Regions from separate parts of the Homo sapiens genome. Here region 2 is linked to region 1. Evidence: promoter capture Hi-C in 16 types of primary human blood cells and fetal thymus (Javierre and others, 2016). All regions are on one chromosome and are shown on one strand. The core of a region is centred on a gene start or on the middle of the fragment in contact, and the rest is flanking DNA. Distances in the headings are between cores, read along the strand shown. Region 1 holds the start of DNAH6 (dynein axonemal heavy chain 6). Region 2 holds the start of TRABD2A (TraB domain containing 2A).

Region 1 (7,729 bases), core at 2,913-5,412:
TTATAAGTGAAAACCAAATGATGACAACACATGAACAAAAAGAGAGGTACAAGAGACCCTGGAGTCTACTTGAGGGAGGAGGGTGTGAGGAGGGAGAGGAACAGAAAAAAACAACTATTGTGTACTACACTTAGTACCTGAGAGATGAAATAATCTGTGCAACAAACCCCCATGACCTCAGTTTACCTATGTAACAAATCTGTACATATACCCCTGAATCTAAAATAAACGTTAAAAAAGTTACACATAAAAACACTAGCTGCATCCTGTGTGAAGGTGCAGTTTCACCTATGCAGATCAGGCAACAAAAAGTTGGAAGAGATTATAGTATAACTTAGGTTAAGGGTGAAAATGCAATTTAATTTAGGCAACATGTGTACATTGGATTGAGAAACTGGTTTCCAGGTAAAATATGTGTGAATTAAGTAAAATTGTATGTTAAATATAATTATATGGAAATTAATATACAATTAAATACAATTATACATATATGTAACTTTTTCATCAACTCCACAACACCACTCACAGGGCCCTGTCTCATAGGAATATAAGCACCAATACAAAAGGATAATACAATTTTACTGTACCATTTGAAATACTGGCAAAACAACTTGAATGTCTCAAAAGAGGAGAATGATTTAGTAAATTATGGAATGTTCATACAATCAGATACTATGCCACCACTAAGTGTAAAAAGCTAGATGGAGAGTATTGTATTTATTTGTAATATTTTCATGAAAATATTACAAATACACACAATTACAAATTGTAAGTTTCATACATTTGTAAAATTACAAAATTACAAATAAATTTGTATAAAATTGTTTCAGCATGGACAAAGGCAAGAAAAGACATATACTAGATGTCATCAATGTTAGATGGCATAGAAAAGGGGGTCAGAGATTGGGGAATTTGGAGGTAAGGAAAAAATGTAAAAGAAGAAGAGTAGAAAAGAAAGAGAGTAGGAGAAGGAGGGGTAAGGGAAGAGAGAGAGGAGGAAGAAAAGAAGAAGGAAGAGGAGGGGAAAGAAGGGGGGAAGAGGAGAATAGGAAGAAGAAGGGGAAGGGAAAGGGAGAGGAGAAGGCAGTTGAGGGGAGGGAAGTCAATAACAAAAATACATTCTTACCAACTCTATAAAAAGAAGTCAAACTGCAGACACCCACAGGTGTGAAATTAGTCACTAGACTATTAAGCTACTTTCTCTCTGCATGGTGAAACTTCAGGTCATTTTCACTTTTTTCCTTGTTATTTTTTAATATTGTATGAATTATTTTATTCATGTATTATTTATACTGTGCAAGTTATGTTAGTATATAACATACTGCCTCAAACTTAGTAACTTAAAAACTAACATTTATTTTGCTAAAAATTCTGTAATTTAGGCAGAGCTCAGTGGGGACAGCATCAATGCCTCAGCTGGTGCCCAGTGGAGTAGAGGCAAGCTGTCCCCACTGAGCTCTGCCTAAATTGCAGATATCTGTCAGTTGATACAGGCTGTTGGCTGAGACTTGTTCAGATAAAATCTCCTCAGAGAGACCTTTCTAGTCACCCAATCTAAAGCAGTCTCTTCTGAGTCTCTACCATAGTCCATGTGCTCTTTTCTTTTCTTTTTTTAGAGATAGGATCTCACTCTGTCACCCAGGCTGGAGTGCAGTGGTATAAGCACAGCTTACTGCAGCCTCTACCTCCTGGGCTCAATGACCCTCTCCCTTTGCCTCCCAAAGTGCTAAGATTACAGGCATGAGCCCATGCGTTTGGCTTATTTTTTAAATAGTTACTATCACTAGGTGAAATTGTTCAGTCTGCTTATTTAGAATTACTAGAATGTCAACAGGAATCTTGTCTGCTTTGTTCATTTTTGTTCATTTATATTTGTTTATTTTGTTCATTTATATTTGTTCATTTGCTTTGTTCATTCCTCAGAGCATGGCTCAAACCCTGGCACAGAGTACGCACATAACAAACTTTTAATATACATGAGTAGATGGCATTGGTGACAAATTAAACAACTTTAATCATCAACGGTTAGTGATACACTTTTGTCAAGTGAAGGCAAATACGTCAGAGAGAAATAGATGTAGCTAACGTCTAATGGTGGAGAGGACAACTTTTACTTTTTAATTTTTTCGCTTTCACTGCTCTTTACATGCGTTTATAATTATCCAAGGGCATAAATGGTTTCTAAAAATTAAGTATTTTCAACATGCACACAATTTTTTAAATACAAAGGCATGTACTTTGAAAATAATAAAACTATATAACTAAATATAACATTTGCTAAACTTCTCAGTGTTAAATGGTACCCTAATATCTAAAAGTGCCTAATAGCATACATAGTTAAGTATCTGTATTGTACATAATCCTAGAGAGGACTTATCTGCCTGAAAACTTTGTTCACCACTGTATCCTTCAACTTAAACAGTGCCTAGAACTTAATATTTGTTTAATAAATATTTACCGTATTTACAACTACATAAGCAGTTATTATCTTTTAGCTTTTCATTCCTTCTTTGTCAGTTCAGAGTCTGGACATGACTTCTATCCTCCAAAGCAATTTTACAACTTCCTCTGTGGCTACAGAGGCTAAAACAATGGTTTTTGAACTTACCAAAGGCTCTAGTTTTATAGGCTGCTGTCGTTTTCTTGTCTTCTCCTGAGCTTTTGTAATGTGCCTAAACGTTAGGATTTGTGTATCAGATTCATTTTCTGTGGATGTCACATAACTCACTCTTTGTTTGGCTTTTATATTATTCAGTCTTGAAAGTGCAGAATTTTCGGCATACTCTTCAATATTTGTCAGGTCAAATTCACTATCTGTGGCCCGAAAAGTCATCCTTACTCCTGAAAAGAATAGGTGAGGAAAAAGAAAATGAAAAGTAGATCAAAAGGATTGGGGAAGGAGGCTACTGGAGAGGGACTTAAGGACTAGGAAGAGTTGAATTCGCTCACTTCCCTCAAATAAAACCCATCAAAGTTACCCCAGTCTTCCCGAACTGAGGACTTGAACCAAAGGAATAAAAAATTAGAAACTGTGCCTAGGCTTCAAGAACCCCTGTAGCTAGGGTGGAACCCAGGAATTTGCATTTCTTGCAAGTTCTTGGCGGATGCTGCTGCTGCTGCTCATCTGGAGACCACACTGGTCTAGATTTGGAAGGACAAAAGGAAATGTAATTAGTATTGAGATCAATGTTTCTCATCTCCTGCGGAACTTGTTCAAAATGCAGCTAATTCTAGTACACGCAGTCTGAAAAATACAGTATAGGTACTCAAGAAGAAACAAAGGGAAAAAAAAGAATTGAGGGCTAATTTCTTACACAGTGCTTCTGGAGCTTTAACGTGCAGGACAATCACTTGCAGAGCTTGTTAAAATGAAGGTTCTGATTCATACACTTTGAGTAGCAAGGTCCTAAAACACTAGAAATATGAGCCTTTTGTAATGGTCTTGCACTCTGCACCACCACGCACACTTTCACCCCATTAGATGAGTGGAGATACTTCGAAACACCTTCCAAAATAGGGTTAGCACAAGAGGTCTTGAATCAGGTGTCGGCAGACCTAGGTTTTATATAGATCAGTGCTGGCCAATAGAAATATGAGAGCTTTGTATGCAATTTTAATTTTCAAGCAATAGCATTTTTAAAAAAGAAATAGGTGAGATTAATTTTAATAATATGTTTTATTTACCATATACAAAACATAATCATTTGAACACACAGTATAAAAATTATAGTGATATCTTATGTTGTCTTTTGGTACCACGCCTTCAAAATCCAGTGTGCTTTTTACATATGAGCACATTGCAATTCAGACTAGCCACACGAGGTCTAAAGATTACCGTATTTAACAGCGCAGGTCCAGATTTGACCACTCAGCGTGAGATCTTGGACAAGTCTTTTGATATCGCTATTGCTCACTTTCCACCCCTCTAAAATGATGGGCGGATAGCAGACAATCACTGAAATGCCTTTCCATTGATTTTCTCTGCCTCTTTGAGCCTTTATGTTCTCCGAAAGTCAGACTTTGTTTCTGGCCCAGAAATCGGAGCCCAGGCCCGAGGGTCGGTTCCCAGGACTCACCAAGTCAAAATACAGCAACCACCGCCGAGGGTCTCCAGAGAGAGCAATGCCTGGTCGGGAGTAGAAAGTACTCGGTAGCGCGGAATGTTTCCTGTTGCTGCGTAGCAACCAGCTGGCCTCTACGGAAGCACTGCGCCACTGAGTAACACGTCGCCAGGCAACGCCTCAACCAGCCACAGCTTTCGGTCCAGGAGCGCGCCAGGCAATCGAGCCAATTAGTGTCTCCGAAACATTTCCTACTTCGCTGATTGTTGGAGAAGCCGCACAGCCTGGTTCCTCCTCTGCGCTGGGAATTGAGTACTGTGCCAGGAGGTGTAGGCAGAGCAGCCAAAGGAGGTGGTTAATTCTGTTTGCTTCGTTGCTTATCGACCACTCACACCCATCTCAACCTCTTACAGGAATTTCTTTTCTGTTTTCCTTCAAGAGGCGTAAGACTGACTTGACGTTCACTTTAATAGAAATTTATCCGAAAGAGTCGAGAATTTCAGGAGAGGAATGTGGGTTGTGTAGACAAATGAGGTCCCACTCTCCAAGGAAGCAACCACTCTGCATCCCTGCCCTACCCGCCAACCTCCTCCCGAGTGTCTTAAGGCTCAAGAAATGTGGCCTCCTCTTCCCTTAAACTCCACTGTGGCCTTCCAACTAATGTCCTTTTCCACTTGGAAGGTAACCTAGGTGTCAGGCATAGGATGAGCCCGTATTACTTGGTTCCCGTGCCCCTTCTACCAAAGCAGACCCTGGATCTTATTCTGGCGTTTAATCTCACTTAAGTTCCCAAGTGACTGTTGCTAATTTTGTATGGAGCGACCCCATCGAAGGCCAGGGCCTGTTGCTTACTCGGGATGCCTTATCCCAGTTACTGATCAGGGGAAGAAATCCTTTCACCTGTCTTGATGAATCCTTACACCACATGGAGGAGCTCTGGTTTTCAACCTTGTCTCCAAAATGACATAATCATCATTTTCTTTTGCTCTTTTCGGTTGCTCTTTGTTACCTTGATATTTGTTTCTTGCTCTATGTGAAGTTCTTTACATTATTGTACTCACAGCCTGCATCTTCTCAATCTTAACATATTCAGTTATGTATTTGATATGGTAGTATGATTCTCTAAATCACAGATAGAGCTAAAATGGAGATTACAGGTCACATAGTCCAACTCCCCTATTTGATTTGTAAGGGAACTGAAGCCCAGAGAAAGCAAGTGCTTTACTCCAGGTCAGGCAGCTAGTTGTGCCACAGACAAAACTAGAATGCAGATCTCCCAATCCCTAATGAGAAACTGGAAACAGCAAGAGAGTAAAGTCAGTTTAGAAAAAATTTTAAAAATTCTGAAAAACTTCAAATGTAGACAAAATAAAGATTAATTCCCCAGAGATGAAAAATACACACAAAACTAGTCAGCTAGTAAAATGCAATCATTGATATAAACTAATAATGGAAAAAGAAATTCAAAGCCAACTCAGTACATCGAAGCATAAAGTTATAATAACAAGCAATGTTAGACACATCCTCAGAATAGATTTCATTTCAGATGTGCAGTGAAAATTTTAATCTGTTCCCTTCAAAGTTTATGCAATGGAGACAAATCTATTGCTCCTCAATCCTAGACTCCCTTTTTTAGATTAAGGTGGATTGTACACAACTGTTACCATGTGCAGCTGAAAGCATTCCAAAAGCTAAGAAGTGTGTGTGTGTGTGTGTGTGTGTGTGTGTGTGACTGTGGTGAAGTGGGGGTGGGAGGATTGGAAGACACAGACATAGTTTTACAAAGATATTACTATATGAAACACTACTCATCAAATCTCTCCAAGCTTATTTTTTAATGTGGCAAGATGTTATCTTCATTATCAACTGACCACTTACTAAATCAATGTAGCAGCTTTGTGTATAGCCTGCTATTTTTATAGTTCTTATAGATAATTGTTACATTTCATTGGTTGTTTCTTATGTGCCAAGTACTGTGCTTTATATTTCCCATTCATTTTCTTAAGTACTGCTAACAAACATGAAATTCCCATTTCACAGCTAAAGAAGTAGGTTACAAATGGTTACTCACAAGTTCACATCTTTAATAGTAAAAGGAAATGCAGTTAAAATTTTTTTAGCATTAGGTTAAGATTTATATACCAGGCCATTTGTGATGGGTGCTATTCCACTAATCATTGCAATAACCTTATGTTAGAGGTATTATTATACCTATTCCACAGATAGGAAATTGAGGCTTAAAGAGGTTGTGTGACTTTCCCAAGTCACTTCAGAGGTAGTAAGTGGCAGAGCTGAGATACAAATCCAGATCCATCAACTTAAATTTCTATATGAATTTGAGCCCAAGATTATTGAATCATAGAATTCTGCTTCTGGATATATAGTGGAGTATAGCAGGGCTCACAGAAATAAGGGAATCCTCAAGTGTCAAAATAATAATCAGATGAAACCAGAGCAATAAATAACATGGAAGCTGTGGGTGCTGTGGGTACAAATGCCTATACAAAGAACATATAGCTTCAGGGATTAATGCTGAGGAGAAATGGAAGACTAGGCCTTGCTTGAGTCTACACAAAATGGAAGAGCAAACTACAGTTGCCACACACATCTGAGACTGTTGGAAGAATTATCCCCTCAGTAATAGGTTGGACTAGGAAAAAACTGGCAGTGACAAAAACCTACAGGAAAACCAGCATATTTCTACCTGTAGATCCAGGTGGGAAAAAATTGTTAAAAATATAATAGTCTCCCCCAGGAATTTAGGAGTATAGACAAAACTAGTTCTGGGTTTTTCATTTACACTACCTATGTGGTCTGGGGAAAAAAATGCAAGCTACTAGGAAATACCCATGAAGAGAAAGGCATCATCAACTCTGAGTCCTTAGAATTCTCACAAGTTAGTTTCAGCCAAATATAAATTTACAATTAAAAAAAACCCAAGCATACAAGAAAACAAGCCACTCCAAACAAGAGTTAGCAGAATAAACAAGACTTAAAAGGCAAACACATTATATATTAGAACTCTTAAATATAGAATACATAAAATATTTATGAAATGTTCAAGGATAATGACAATATAAAATTTAAAAGTAATTATGGGAATAACATTAGCAAAAATGGTAGAGTAAGGAACTCTAAAAGTCCATCCTTCCACAAAAGTTGTAAGACTTCAGTGACTTTAGAGATTTCAGTAACCACATGTGACAAAGCATACAGTCTTTAAATAATAGTTTACAAAAGTCAGCAACAAACAAATACAACCTACAACAGGCAGAAACAACAAATTCTTAGAAGGCAGGAGAATCTGATTTCCCGAGTTACCATATTATAATATTCAACATATCCAATATCCAATTTTCAACCAAAAGTATGAGACATGCAAACAAAGAAAGTATGGTCCACTTACAGGAAGAAAAACTTAATTAATTATAAATTAAGATGTTAATTGTAATCACAGGGCAACCACTAAGAAAATAACTAAAAAAAAATAGATAAAAAGTGAACCAAAATGGTACACTTAAAAAAATCTACCTCATACAAAAGAAGGCAATAGTGAAAGAATTGAAAAATAACATATAGAAAACAAATACAAAATGTCAAAAGTAAGTCCTTCCTCATCAGTAATTACATTAAATGGAAATTGATTAAACCTATCAGTTAAAAGGCAG
Region 2 (7,729 bases), core at 3,017-5,516, 360 kb before region 1:
GAGGCACCCTCCCCTCACAATCGGCAGCATAAGCACAGACGTAAACGCAGGAACCAATGCGATTTTAGGTTGAATTTAGGACAGCGCTGGAACTTCACTTTACCCCTCTTGCGGTCACACGAGGTGGGCGGCGGCCCCGGCAGGGTTTGGGCGGGAGAAACGCGGTTCGGGACTCCGCTGCCGCCTAGGCGCGGGGCTGACCTGCGGGGGTGGGGTGGGGGGAGGGAGGTCGAGGCCCGGCCCCACGTGGCCGCTGCTGCCGGGCTCACCCCAGCCCCGCCCGGAGGCGCCCCGCGGCCCCGGCTAGCCAGGGCGGGCGGCCACCTCTGCCCTACTCCTTCCCTCCGCGTTCCGGGCCTCGGAGCCGCCTTGAGGAGGATGAGTCCCTGGAGCTGGTTCCTGCTGCAGACCCTCTGCCTCCTGCCCACGGGCGCAGCTTCGCGGCGCGGGGCGCCCGGCACCGCCAACTGCGAGCTCAAGCCCCAAGTAAGGCGCGCGTCGGGTGCTGGAGAGCCGGCCTCTCTGCACCTCCTTGGGATGGTTTCCCTCCGAACCCCGCGAAGCAGCGCTTTCGGACCCCGAGCCGACTTCCGCGGCTGGGCTTTCACCTAGCACCGCGGCGCTCCTTGCTCGCTCTCCTCTCCGTGCCCTCGGGTTCCCCTTTCCCGCGGGGGCGCAGCCCGCAGGCTCCAAGCGACTCAGTGCCCTGGCCTTTGCCCTCCGCCAGCCCAAGGGCGTCCGAGAGAGCCTCTGGGGTCTCGCCAGCCATTTTCGCGAGCTTTCGGGGGACGGATCCGCCAGGGAGTACCGGACCAGGAACTTGGGCACATTTATTTGAAGTTTCTTCTTCCCTCTCTTCCTTAAGAGTTTAATTTCACCTGCTCTTATCAAAATATTAACAGCGCCCTGAAGCTGCTTGGCTTAACCTTCATATGTTCAGTGCCTGAGTTAGAAGGGACTTTAGGGAGTTGAAGCCATTTCCCTTGTTTTTACCGATCTGGGAAACTGACACTCAGCGGGGGACCTGTGTGCTCCAGGTCACAGAGTGCGTTCGCGGAGTGACCACTGTCCGAGCCTTGCGTGTCCAGCCGGGCGCTTTAGATGTTCGCATCAACGTTTTGTGGGTGAGGGAAACCCAGGCAAGGGAGGCTCAGTGACCTGCCCGAGTCAACACAGCTCTATAGCGGACAGGTCTTGCGTCTCCGAGGCTGGACCTCTTTCGAGATGAATATTTCCTTCTCTGATCAGTTTTCCTACACTCAGAATTTTCTGTGGTTCTCGAGTCCCTCTCTTCTGAGTGCGGCATAGGTTGAATTTCGCGCATTTGTTCCGGTGGGTTTGATATCTGTGCGTCCCTGGCTCTGGAGAGGGCCATGCCAGGCTTATCCTTCTGGTGCGCCCGCGACGCGGGGGTGGGGGGGGTTGGGGGTGGGTTGAGGGAGTGGGGGCTGGAATTTAGAGGCCCACCTTTGATGACACCTGCGCAGCTCCCCGGTCTGCCTCCACCCCTGGCCATTCGCAATTTTATTCCTCATCCCAACTGCAGCAAAGCAGAGGACGGCCAAATAGAGCCGATCCTGGAGCTCCGGGCTGGGAAGACGCACGGTGTTCGCCTCTGTAAGGCGTCGCGGGGCTGCGGACGGCCCTCTACCAAGGCAGGAGGCGCGGCAGCTGGAGAGGGGAGTCTGCACCAGGCATGGTTTCAAACTCTGTTGCGGTGTGGCCGCTTCATGCTTGTTAGACAAGGCAGGAGTCCATCTCCTCACAAGAAAGCACATTGCCTTTCACTTCTGCAAAACCTATTACCGACTGGTAATTATGACGAGTGAGTCTGGATAAGATCTCTCTCCTTTAGAATCTGTCTTTATGAGTCCTTTATTCCATCGTCCTACCTTTTGGTCTCAGGACTCCTTTACGTTACAAAAAATTATCAAAGAAGCCCGGCATGGTAGCTCACTCCTGTAATCCCAGCACTTTGGGAGGCCAAGGCGGTGGATCACTTGAGCCCAGGAGTTGCAGACCAGCCTGGCCAACATGGCGAGACCCTTGTCTCTACAAAAAAATAAAAAAAATTACCAGCGTGGGGACATGTGCCTGCAGTCCCAGCTACTCCAGAGACTGAGGTGGAAGGAAACCTTGAGCCTGGGAGTGGAGGCCAGTGAGGTGTGATTGTGCCACTGCACTCCAGCTTGGGTGAAAGAGCGAGACCCTATATCCAAAAAAAAAAAAAAAAAAGTATTGAAAACCTCAAAGACTTTTACTTTATGTGAATTAATGGAGATAGTAGTAAAACACAACATAGCACACATTCCATTAGCCATCAGAGCAGTGACCTCATCACACACATGTAGCCTCCAGAAAATTCTACAGTACCTTGTGAGAAAATGAGGGTGAAAGGAAAATATCTTAGTTTTATAAAAACAGTTTTGACCTTATAGACTCCCTGAAAGGCTCTTGGGGACACCCACAGGTCCCTGGACCATACTTTGAGAATTGCTGTTCTATTCTGTGGGCAAACTCTGTCTTACCCCCTGCGGAATTGGGAAGGCCAATCAGCGGCACACATGCTGTATGTCTGACCCACATGCTGTAAGGGCATTGTGGTTGGGTTCCTCAGTGGGTTGGGGTCTTGAGATTCTAGAGTGGAAGTCCTGGGATCCAGCCTCCAATCCAGTGCAGCAGCCCCTATAGGATTCTGCAGGACTGTAGCCTTGAGAGCTGGTTTGGTTTTCATGGTTGGTTAATCATTAGAGAGGTCTTCTGAGCCCAAATTGGCCCCTAGACACTGCAGGGTTTACCCTGAGCACCACGCAGGTTGAGTCTCTTTCTTGTCAAACAGAACTCTTAGTGTTCTTTCCTATTCCTGCCTGCTGCCTTTTTTTTTTTTTTGAGACAGAGTCTTGCTCTATCTGTCACCCAGGCTAGAGTGCAGTGATGCTACATTGGCTCACTGCAACCTCTGCCTCCAGGGTTCAAGTGATTCTCCTGCCTCAGCCTCCTGAGCAGCTGGGATTACAGGCGCCCACCACCAAGCCCGGCTAATTTTTGTATTTTTAGTAGAGATGGGGTTCCACTATCTTGAGCAGGCTGGTCTCGAACTCCTGACCTCATGATCCACCCGCCTCAGCCTCCCAAAGTGCTGGGATTATAGGCGTGAGCCACCGTGTCCAGCCTGATGCCTTTTATACTTGCTCTTTCTTCCCCCTGGGAAATTCTCCCCTCATTTATCCACAGGCTTGCTCCCTTACCTCCATCTGGCTTTGGCTCAAGCGTCTCTCAATGAGTTTCTTCCTGATTACTCTCGTAAAGGTGACATCAACTGCTGCCACCACTACCATCTGCCTTCCCTGCTTTATTTTTATTTATAGCACTTAATCACCATCTGATAAAAATTTTTGTTTATTGCTGCCCCTTCCCCTATGTCATCTTCATAAGGGTAGGGATTTTTGTCTGTTTTGTTTGCTTCTGCATCCCCAGTATCCAGAAGAGTGCCTTGCCATAGCAGATGCTCAAAAAATATTTGTTGAATGAAAAGGATAATGTAAAGCCAGCTTCATTGTGGCTGGTCTGCTGAAGAGTAATCTTGGAAAAGTGCAGTTATTGCAGGTCCAGGGATGCTAGGATGGGAGGAGCTGAGGGTGTGCTGGGTGTTACGGAGTTAGCTTGCAATATGCAGTTGTCATTGTGCCTTGTTCTTTTTCACTGGATGGACTACACAGGTGTCTGTTAAAATCTCAGTTTGATTCAGAAGCTTGTAGCTTCTGTGTCTCAGTCACCCATGGCCATGTTTTCTCTCTCTCTTTTTTCTTTTTTGAGACACAGTCCTGCTCTGTCACCCAGGATGGAGGGCAGTGTCGTGATCATAGCTCATTGTAACCTTCAACTCCAGGCCTCAAATGGTCCTCCTGCCTCAGCTTCCCAAAGTCTTGGGATTACAGGCATGAGCCACCATGCCCGGTTGTCTTTTCCTTCTGGGAACAGTTGCAACAAGTTAGAAGGGACATGTTAATCGTGGTTCAGTTTTTTTTTCTTTTAAACCACCCTAATGTTAAAATCTATGGCTTCTTCTAATTGCCATATATTTTAACAGTGAAATGGGGTAGTGAAGGATTTTTTTTTTTTGTAGAGATAAATAGCCCTACCCTGAGGATATCAGTATGAGAGAGGCAGAGGCAGTTGCACCAGTACAGTAAGTGCAAGGGTCCGGGGGCTCGCCAGTGGGCAAAGTAAGGTAAAGAAGAGTCCTGAAGACTCTTCTTTCAGCCTGTGCCCTGCTGAAGACATGTCTGGTAGGGCAGGATCAGTGTTCCACAGGAATGGTTATTGGTGCACACAGTGGGAATCCGGGTGCCCTTTGGTCAGAACAGATCTGTAGGTATTGAAGAAATTGTACAAGATAAGATTCATTTCTTTAAAAAACTCTTTTTGAGCTCCTATGTAGTAGTATATGGCAAGTATTTCAGTATTTGGGGATATGAAGGTGAATAAGATACAGCCCTTGGCATAAAAAAGCAGAAAAGCCCCTGAGCTGTGTTAACTTGAAAAGAGAAAATGGGAAAGGTGGCACCTGAGGATGTAACAAGGTCAGTGTGGTTTATCTGGGCAATCATCTGGGATCGGGAAGATGAGCTGGACAGAGCCTTTCTAGATTTGGAATCAGGTGGTGCTCCTCAGCAACAATACAACTAGCAGGGTATTAACTGAAAAAAGATATGACTCTGAATCAGAGGTAAAGTCTATTGCATGTTAAGGCTGCATAAATATGGCGTTTAAAAGCTTGGACTCAGGAGTCAGCCTACCTGTCCACCACTTAGCATGGGGCATATTTTTGCTCCCACCACACCACTAAAACTGTTCTTGTCTGAGTCCCTAGTGACTTCAGTGTTGCTCAATCCAGAGGTCAGTTCTCAAATTCTTGATTTATTTGGCCTACCATCCACATTTAACCCGCTTGCTTACTTTCTGCTCCTTGAAGTACTTTCTTCAATCGGCCTCCTACTCTTCTGATTTTCCCAGCAACCTTGCTGGCCACTTCTCATTCTCCCTTGCTAGCTGCTCTTCTTTCCCCAGACTTCTTAGGGTGAGAGGGCCCTGAGTCTATTCCTAGAACTTTTCTCCTGTGGACATCCTGTTGGAGACCTTGTCTAGTCCCATGGCTTTAAAGAACATCTACATGGTGATGATGCCCTCATCTTCATCTCTGACCCAGGCCTCTCCCAAGCTCCAGACTTACATATTCACCTACCACCTGGACCTTGGCACAAGTTGTATGCTTGACATGTCAATTGGACAGATCCAAAACCAAATTTCTGACCTTCCCCTCTAATCCTGTTTCACCCCCGTCCTTCTCCATATCTGTTAATGATAACCTCATCCTTTCATCAGGAAGTCCTGTTTTCTTTCCTTTTTTTTTTTTTTTAATTTTGAGATAGGGTCTCACTCTGTTGCCCAGGCAGGAGTGCAGTGGTGCAATCATAGCTCACTGCAGCCTCATCCTCCCAGGCTCAAACCATCTTCCTACCTCAACCTCCTAAGTAGCTGGGACTGGAGGTGCCTGCCACCATGCCTGGCTAATTTTTAAATATTTTGTAGAGACAGGGTCTTGCTATGTTGTCCAGGCTGATCTCAAACTTTTGGGCTCAAGCTTCCCAAAGTGTTGGGATTACAGGCATGAGGCACCGTGCTGGCCAGCAAATCCTGTTTTCTAGACTACATCTGGAATTTGATCACTTCCCATCAATCCTGTCACTCCCACTCAGATTATTTTGGTAATGTCCTAACTGACCTACTTGTGTCTGCCCTCATCCCTCTATTCATCCCAGCCTCCAGGGCGAGCCTTTGAACACACTGTCAGCTGATGTCACTCCTCTCTCAAAAACCTGGGCTAGCTCCCATCTGAATCAGTTGAAAGCCTGAGCCCTTCCTGGGGCCTTTCCAGAGGCCCACCGACCCTGCATGGCTTGACCTCACTCACCTCTCTGACCTCTGCCTCCTGCTTTTCTGTTCAGCTATCCCTCTCTGTCGTGCTGGCCTCCTTGCTGGTCTTCCAGTACATGGAGGCCCTCCCTGCCTCAGGGCCTTTGCATGCTGTTTCTGCCTCCTGGAGGGAATGCTCTTCTCTTAGATATCCCCATAGTGGGCCCCTCGTCTCCTTCACGGCAAGGCTTAGATGTCTTTATAGACATTCAGTGACTTTTCTGGTCCCCCTACTTAAAGTCACCCCTGCAACCCTGTGCCACAGTACTCACTGTCCCTTTTCTGGCTTACATGTTCTTTTTGTGGTTTTTGCTGTCAAATGATCCCTTATTGAAATGTTTTCCTTTGTGCTTCTTAACTAGCTGGGCATTCCACTGCACCATTGTTGATGTCATGAGTGTGGCAGCCATCAAGATTCAGCCCACAGACTGGGAAGTCCCCAGGATCTCTTTAATGGTTCCAGAAAGTTCTCTGGCTAAAGATTGGTGATGCATCTGTTGAGCAACGTTGACGACCTCATCAAAAGTGATATTTCCACTGTGTTTAATGTTTTCCTGTTTCTTTCTATTTCTTGGTGGTTCCTTGAAGGCTTCGAGGGCAGAAGCAGAAGGTACCACCTCAATCTGGGCCTCTCTGTTCTGAATGGTCAGTTTCACTGTAGTCCTCAGACCCCTCCAGTCACTGGTTGGCTTGGCAATGTCATCACCAACCTTTTTTGGAGACAGACGCAGGGGGGCTGATCTTGGTGGCCAGCACAGATGAGGCATTGACTTCACTCCCGGTGCAACTCAGGTATACGACTTTGATCTTGTTAGGGTCCAACTTAGGTGGCATGGTCAAGTCGGCTGGTGTCAGATGAACCCAGATTTGGGACACTGGAAGAAAGTTACATCTTGGCCTCCTCCAGGCTGAAAGACTTAAAGCCAGCTTACATGTTCTCCACAGCAATTGGCACCAACAGGGAACTGTGTGTCACTCACTGTTGTATTCTCTGTGCCTAGAACAGTGTCTGGCACATGGTAGGCTCAGCAGAAATAATTGTGTTGAATGCAGGCAGTGGGACAGTCCAGGCGAAATGCTTGGGTGGAGGCTGGCACACAGTGAACAGCTGCTGTTAGCATCGGTACTGCCATTACATGGCTAGAGGCCAGACGTGTATGTGCGTGTGTGTGTGTTTTTAAATTTAATCAGTTTTCAGTGAAAAGATCATACAGTGACCTTATTTCTAGACCAGTAATAGTTGAAAAGGCAACAATAAATAAATAATAAAATGAAAATGGATGCATACTGAACAGACTGCTTCTGAAGAGAAATGCAGGTATTTTGAGGTAGGATGGGGACCTTAGGCAGATTAAGTGTATTGGATAAAAACAAACCAAAACCAAACCAAAACGAACCCCACCCCTCCATTATCCTGCAGTATGGGTTTGATTTTCCTGGGAATATATTTGTTTAACATGATGGTGTCCTGATAGATGACAATGAATCAGGTGTCCATGGGTTTAATAATAACATTTCAGCTTGTTTGCTGTGTCTCCCAGTTGGAAACTATGTAGAAGTTCTTGGGTAGACTGCCTGGACATTGTGCAATTAGATCTCTTATATAGGTCAGTGGTCCCCAGACATTTCATGAACCAGACCTCTAAATGAACAAATAAACTAAAATTACTCTTCGAAGGCTGCCTCTACCTATTTGTAGGTAATAATTCTTACCTGTTTACAATTAACCAAAGACATAACTGTCAATCTCAAC

What was found. Contacts are between HindIII fragments. The CHiCAGO score rates a contact against its expected background, and 5 or more counts as called.
Region 2: a fragment that was not itself captured here is called in contact with the fragment with the promoter of DNAH6 in region 1 in 1 of 17 cell types (naive B cells); the score reaches 6.6 in naive B cells.

Annotation. Positions count from the first base shown.
Region 1 is chr2:84,512,931-84,520,659 of GRCh38, reverse strand. DNAH6 (dynein axonemal heavy chain 6) reads right to left here and starts at 4,162. Exons shown (of 77, transcript NM_001370.2): 1 at 4,077-4,162; 2 at 2,609-2,841. The coding sequence starts at 2,833. The HindIII fragment of the contact is 7,595 bases long and covers 1-5,889 here.
Region 2 is chr2:84,873,689-84,881,417 of GRCh38, reverse strand. It overlaps TRABD2A (TraB domain containing 2A), which reads left to right and starts at 334. Exons shown (of 7, transcript NM_001277053.2): 1 at 334-486. The coding sequence starts at 379. It also overlaps the pseudogene RPL12P18. RefSeq lists a silencer at 230-359 and enhancers at 89-589, 590-1,092. The HindIII fragment of the contact is 1,025 bases long and covers 3,754-4,778 here.